Linked DNA regions of Homo sapiens: region 1 is linked to region 2. Evidence: promoter capture Hi-C in human tissues and cell types (Jung and others, 2019). All regions are on one chromosome and are shown on one strand. The core of a region is centred on a gene start or on the middle of the fragment in contact, and the rest is flanking DNA. Distances in the headings are between cores, read along the strand shown. Region 1 has its middle 49 kb from the start of GNG13. Region 2 holds the start of RHOT2 (ras homolog family member T2).

Region 1 (4,218 bases), core at 950-3,449, 180 kb before region 2:
CATCTGTCTTTGGCAGATAGTCCCAAGGCCTCACCACACTGAGCCCATCTCCCCCAAACGTCTGGGGTCCCTGTGTGGTCAGGGCCGTGGGGCCTTTACACTAGCAACCAGTGCCAGCGCCCACACGGCAACCCCCTGGCTCTCCAGGGCCTGCTCTGCGCCCTGACACTAAGCTGCCCCAGTCCCGCACCAGGCCCTCAGTGTGGGTCTGCTGGGTCAACTGTGGGCCTGGGGGAAGGGAGAGGCACCCTGGAGTCCCCAGAGCAGCCTCCCTGGCTGGGTCAGGCCCTCAGCCATTCTCACTGCAGCTTGGAGGTCTCAGACTGCCCAGGTCCTCATCTGAGCAGGAAGGTTTGGGAGAATGGCAGCTTTGGAGCTTCAGATCAGCAACACACAAGAATACCACAGACGGCAGCAGCTGGCCCACAGTGGCAGAAAAGAAAGCTCCCTCGTCAAAACAGTATCACAGCAGCATGGAGACCTAGAGATAAACGGGGCACAGTAACCACCCGAGAAATCGTCCCACATGCGGCCAGGTACCGCCCAATGAGAACAACACGAGAAATCGTCCCACACACACGGCCAGGTACTGTCCGATGAGAACAACCCGAGAAATCATCCCACATGCGGCCAGGTACCGTCCGACAAGAACCCGAGAAATCGTCCTACACACGGCTAGGTACCTTCTGACGAGAACGGCCAGAGAAATCGTCCCACATGTGGCCAAGTACCATCCGACGAGAACAACCCAATAAATCGTCCCACACACGTGGCCAGGTACCTTCCAATGAGAACAACCTGAGAAATCGTCCCACGCATGCGGCCAGGTACCTCTGACGAGAACAGCCCGAGAAATCGTCCCACACGCAGCCACGTACCTTCCAATGACAACAACCCGAGAAATCATCCCACACACGGCCACATACCTTCCGACGAGAACTAGGTACCTTCCGACAAGAACAACCCGAGAAATCATTCCACACATGCAACCAGGTACCTTCTGACAACAACAACCACAGAAATCATCCCCCACGCGGCCAGGTACCGTCCAACGAGAACGACCAGGTACCTTCCGACAAGAACAACCAGGTACCTTCCGACGAAAATGACCCGAGAAATTGTCCCACATGCAGCCACGTACCTTCCAATGAGAACAACCCGAGAAATCATCCCACACACGGCCACATACCTTCCAACGAGAACAACCAGTACCTTCCGATGAGAACAACCAGGTACCTTCCGATGAGAACAACCCGAGAAATCATTCCACACATGCAACCAGGTACCTTCTGACAACAACGACCCAAGAAATCGTCCCACACGCAGCCAGGTACCTTCCAACGAGGACAACCAGGTGTCTTCCGACAAGAACAACCAGGCACCTTCCAACGAGAACAACCAGGTACCTTCCGATGAGAATGACCCAAGAAATTGTCCCACACGTGGCCTGGTACCTTCCGACAAAGGCTCTGAGACCATTCAATGGGAAGAGGACAGCCTTTTCAGCAAATGGTACTGGGAAAGCTTTATCTCCACATGCAAAATAATGAATGAAGCTGGCCCCTTACCTAACAGCATACACAAAAATTAACCCAAAAAACATAGGATGAAACACCTAAATGTAAGAGCTAAAACTGTAAGACTCAGAATAAAACCTGGGAAAATCTTAAGGACATTGGATTTGGCAGTGTTTTCTTGGATATGACAACAACAGCACCGGCAACAACACAGAAAATAAATTGGACTTCATCAAAATTTGACATTTCTGGCCGGGTACAGTGGCTCACACCTGTAATCCCAGCACTTTGGGAGGCCAAGGCAGGCGGATCACCTGAAGTCAGGAGTTTGAGACCAGCCTGGCCAACATAGTGAAACCCCGTCTGTGCCAAAAATACAAAAATTAGCCTGGCGTGGCAGGCACCTGTAGTCCCAGCTACTCGGGAGGCTGAGGCAGAAGAATCGCTTGAACCCGGGAGGCAGATGTTGCAGTGAGCTGAGACCGTACCACTGCACTCCAGCCTGGGCAATAGAGTAATATTCTGTCTTTAAAAAAAAAAACTGTGGCTATAAGTGAGACTGCAGAGCTGCCCCGGGCTGCTGTCTGTGGAAGCCCTGCCCTGCGGGAGCAGCCACAGCTGTAACCCCACCTCTGAAGTAAAGCTGTTTCCTTCCACCTCTGGCTCGACCTTGAATTCTTTCCTGGGCAAAGCCAAGAACCCTCTGGGACTAAGCTCCTCTTTCGGGCTCGTCTGCCATGCATCAGAATGATGTGGCCACGTGGAGACTGTCTGGGGGTTCCTCGAAATGTTCAGTGTAGACGGATGACCACATGACCCCGCAACTCCACGTCTGCACGTAGACCCGGGAGAGCTAGAAACGGCGACCACGTGACCCCGCAACTCCACGTCTGCACGGAGACCCGGGAGAGCTAGAAACGGGGACCACGTGACCCCGCAACTCCACGTCTGCACGTAGACCTGGGAGAGCTAGAAACGGGAACCACGTGACCCCGCAACTCCACATCTGCATGTAGACCCGGGAGAGCGGGAAACGGGGACCTGGGTGTGCTTGCACCGGAACGTTTGCAGCAGCCCAGAGGTGGGGACAGCCCAGATGAACAGACCAGGTGTGCTCACCCATGAGCATTACGCAGCCGCAAAGAGGAGCGAGGCCCCGACGCTCAGATGAGCCTTGAGAACCTGATGCCCAGTGAACCCGCCAGACACAGAGGGCACCGGTCCTGCGATGCCGTCTCTGGAATGTCCAGAACAGGGAAACCCACAGAGACGCTGGGCAGGGAGAAGGTGGACGGCTCTCGGGGCTGCTGGCAGGAACAGGGAGAGCGGGCATGACGGCTCACAGGTCCAGAAGGTTCTCTGGCGGGTGATGAAAATATCTGGAATTAGGCAGAGATGCTGGTTGTGCGTGTGGCCAATGTGTTACGTGCACCACACTGCTGACCTTTAAGTGGTTAATTTTATGTAAATGTCAACTTCACCTCAATGTTTTGAAATACAGCAAAGCAAAGCAGAGTGTCTTAAGCGTCCTGAGACCCTGGGCCTCCCTGCCTCAGGGCCCAGACCCTCACCCTGCCAGAAGGTCCAGTGGGGCTCAGGATGCCGGGCAGGGAACGCGCTTCACTCCTTCTCTGTGGCGTGCATGGGGCTGGAGCCGCTTAAGACCAAGGCTCAGTGCACCTGGATGCTGGTTAACCCGAAAGTGCCGTACGGAGCCACCAGTGGTCCCACAAGCTCTGATGATGGCCGCAGTCACGGACATGCAAACTTTGATTCACTGAGGACCACGCGAGCAAATGACAGGTGATGCCGGCAATTCTCAGCCCACTGCTGCCTGGATAGCTTGCCCCTTACGCCGCGAGCCAGGCTGCCCACCCAGCCCACACCCGGGCCCACCTGGCGCTTAGCAAATGGCCTTCCCACATCACGCTGGTGGCTTTCCGCACCACCCAGTGTTCACCTGGGCTCCCACACACCAGCAGGAGGCAGCAAGCAGGCACCTCCCTCCCATCTTGCTCCAAGCGCTGTGTGCGGGAGGGATGGAAACCTCCAGGCGCTGGGAAGAAGCACCCCAGGCACTAGGCAGGGGAAGGCTGGGGGGCCTCCGTGCCCACCCCCAGGTCTGAGCGCATTGGGGAACCCGGGGCACCGGGAGGGTTTGCGGACAGTGCCACCCTCCCTGCAGGGCTGCGGCCACCTTACTTTGCCTGGGCCGCCTGGCCAGGGGCCGCAGCTGACCCGCTGAGTCTGGGTTGGTGGCTCACCGTTCTAGGGTTTACACCTGACCCAGTGTGATCTATACCTGCCCAGGTCATACCACACTGTCCAAACTGTTACAGCTTTCAAACCAGCCCTGGACTGGCCGTCATAGCCGCCTTGATTGTCGTTGGCCCATTGCTGGAAGCAAGTTGGCGAAAGCTTCCGTCAGCTCTGACGGTTGGTGTGCAGACAGATGGCGGGCCGCAACATCCTTTCCTCCCCTCCCTGAGCCTCTTTTTCTCTTGGGTGGCAGGTGGGGCCATCTCCTCTGCCTCATCTTTTTCCTAACCTGGAAGTTGTTCCTTAAACACCTGCCCACGGTGGGCTACTGTGAAGCCCTTCACCCGCAGCCATGTGGACATGCTGGAGGAACATCAACAGACTCTCATCTGAACAACAAAAAAGAGGAAAGAACACTCAGCAAAGGAAAGAAGAGGCACTG
Region 2 (2,528 bases), core at 29-2,528:
AGCCTTCCCTAAAACCTGCCTCCAGCCTGGTGTTGGCAGAGCAGGCACTCCCCAGTGTCACACTGGGAGCTGCTGCTGAACCCTCAGAGAAGCCTCTTCCCCGCCCACTGCCAGTGCAGGGACACCAGGCCCCAGAAGCATAACTGTGGTCAGCAAGACCCTTGGAGCAGAGGGCTCAGGACAGACACGGCCACACCTGCAACCCAACACCCTGCAAGACAGCCGCCGCCTTGGCCCCTGCCTCCCCCCTCGCTACAGACAGAGTGACAGGACCGCAGTGAGGGGTGCCAACAGCAGGGGCTGCCCTGGGTGGCTGTGGCCTGTGCCCTTGCCTGGAGATGTCCCCGGCACACGTGCTCTGGTACTGGGAGCTCCGGGTGCCCGGAGGCCGGGACGGTGGGCTGGAGCACACAGCACGGGGACGTGGCGCACACAGAGCCCACAGGAAGAGCAAACGCTGCTGCCACCCCGGCAGGAGGGAGGGAGAGCCCGCGGGGAAGGGTCCTGTTATCCCTGGAGCACCACTGGACTGAGCGGTGCCGGCTCCCAGCGGGGTGCGCTGTAGGGGCCCCGACAACCCTCAGTGCGGAGGTCACAGAATTATCAGGGCCAAGGACACCCGGAGCACCTCGGTCCAATCCCCCAGGCTGCGAAGCGGATTAGGCCGAGCCCGCGCCCAGCCCCTCCCTCGTCCCGCGCACCACGGGTACCTTGTGGATCTCCTCCCGCAGCTCCTCGTCCGTCTGCTCGGCTTCTAGGGGGACAAAGAGACTCCACTGCGGACCCAGCAGGCCCGCCGGACCGCTGCGGGCCGGGCCCCCGGGAGGCTACGGCCGCTACCTGAGTAGTCCACGATGTGGGTGGGCACCTTCTCCGGGGTGACGTCCGCGGGGATGGTGATCTCCTCCGCGCGGGGAGGGACCTGCAAGGGACCCGCGCGCTCACCAGGGACCCCCGGCTGGGCCCGCTCCCACCCCCGCGGCGGGCGTGCCCCTTACCTCCTCGGGGAACTCCTCGCCCACCAGGGACAGGATCAGCGACGTCTTCCCCACCTGGGCTGCGCGGGGCGAGGCGGTCAGCGCGAGGGCCAAGGTCACGGCGCCCCCCGACCCCCGAGACCCTCACCCCGCCTCACGGCCGCCGCAGCTCCGAGACCCCCGGGCCGGCGCCTACCCTCGCCCAGTAACAGGATGCGCACGTCCCGCCTCATAGCTGCCGCCCGGAGCCGCTCCCCGACCCGGAACCCGGCCCCGACCTGGTCCTCAAGCCTTTCGCTCTGCCCCCGCGCCCGCCCCGCACTTCCGGTTCTCGGCCCCGCGCTGTCCCCACACTTCCGGCCCCGCCCGCACAGCCGCACCAGCGAGCCGGGCGGGCCAGAGCGGACAGGCTGTGCGGCGCGCCACCGTGTGGACGCGCCGGCCACGGCGGACAGCGCAGGGTCCTGGCGCCCTGGCAGGCCGAGCGGCCATTGCTTCACGGCACCACAGGGGCCTTGACAAACAGCCGATTAAGGGACGGGCAGAGGCTGAGCTCAGGCCAGGAGTGACCAGAGACAGCCAGTGCAACAATGCAGCAATAATGCAATAAATGCCCATGTTTATTACAAGATAGAAACATTAAAGATTTCTTAGGCAAAAGGGCAACAGGTATGAAAGTATTCACAGGGCGCCAAATTTACAACAGCTTGCTCCAGGCGATTTACGTGAATCCTGGCCTGTCCCAGCATGAGGCCATTGACAACCTGGCGCCTCTGCCAAGCCTGTGTCCAGGTGCCTGGCATGACCAGGCGTGATGCCCACCACCACAGTCCCTGCTGCATCTCAGAGGCCGGGGACCTCCCACACAAGGATCTCGTTGCGGGCGGCCGTGAAGAGCAGCCTGGCGGACGGTGTAAACCTGCACAGGTGCACTGCGTTGTCGTGGCCGGCAAAGTCTTGGGCAGTCCCCATGGCACAGTCTACCAGCCTCAGCATGCACTCTGTGGGTAGACGGTGCAGGTGGGCCAGGGCCAGGACCAGGCAGCACTCAGAGGGCTCCCCCAACCCACCCAGACTGTCCCCACTGGGCATGATGCTGGTCGGGGGAGCTGGTGCTAAAAGGGCTCCTGGCTGTGCCCTCCACGTGCCACTGGGACTAGGGGGTCCATCACTGCCAGGCTGTCGGCCTGCAGCTGGGCCAGTTCCCTCCTTAAAAGTCGCTGCCACCCGTGCATTCAGGCCCTGTGCTGGGCGCTGTGCCTGGTTCCTCACCTGCCTCATCATCTCCTGACTCCAGGACCCTCTCTAGGGCAGATGTCCTCACCCCACCCCAGAGACGAGGAGCCCGGGGCACAGGTGAGGCACCTGTCTTGGAACAGGGCACCAGTCAGCCCACTTGGCCCCCACCTAAGACAGGCCCAAACTGCATCCACCAGCACTCACCAGCAAAGCCAACAGCCAGGAGGTGGGTCCCGGGGGACAGGCTCAGGGACATGGCAAAAAAGGGCAGTGGTATCTTCTCCACCACCTGTGAGCAGCCAGCGTGAGGCT

What was found. The method cuts DNA at HindIII sites, captures the fragments that hold promoters and counts their contacts. A contact is called where the count stands out against the background at its distance.
Region 1: a fragment that was not itself captured here is called in contact with the fragment with the promoter of RHOT2 in region 2 in 4 of the 25 tissues and cell types used here (dorsolateral prefrontal cortex, lymphoblastoid cells, spleen and 1 more).

What each region holds. Positions count from the first base shown.
Region 1 is chr16:847,336-851,553 of GRCh38, reverse strand. No RefSeq gene overlaps it. Among named protein-coding and RNA genes, the nearest start is that of GNG13, 49 kb to the right of the region's middle. The HindIII fragment of the contact is 6,946 bases long and covers 1-4,218 here.
Region 2 is chr16:666,882-669,409 of GRCh38, reverse strand. RHOT2 (ras homolog family member T2) reads right to left here and starts at 1,278. Exons shown (of 19, transcript NM_138769.3): 1 at 1,174-1,278; 2 at 999-1,057; 3 at 841-922; 4 at 711-754. The coding sequence starts at 1,210. WDR90 (WD repeat domain 90) reads right to left here. Exons shown (of 41, transcript NM_145294.5): 40 at 2,421-2,505; 41 at 1,580-1,978. The coding sequence ends at 1,821. RefSeq lists silencers at 811-900, 1,001-1,100, 1,161-1,500 and an enhancer at 886-1,567. The HindIII fragment of the contact is 52,780 bases long and covers 1-2,528 here.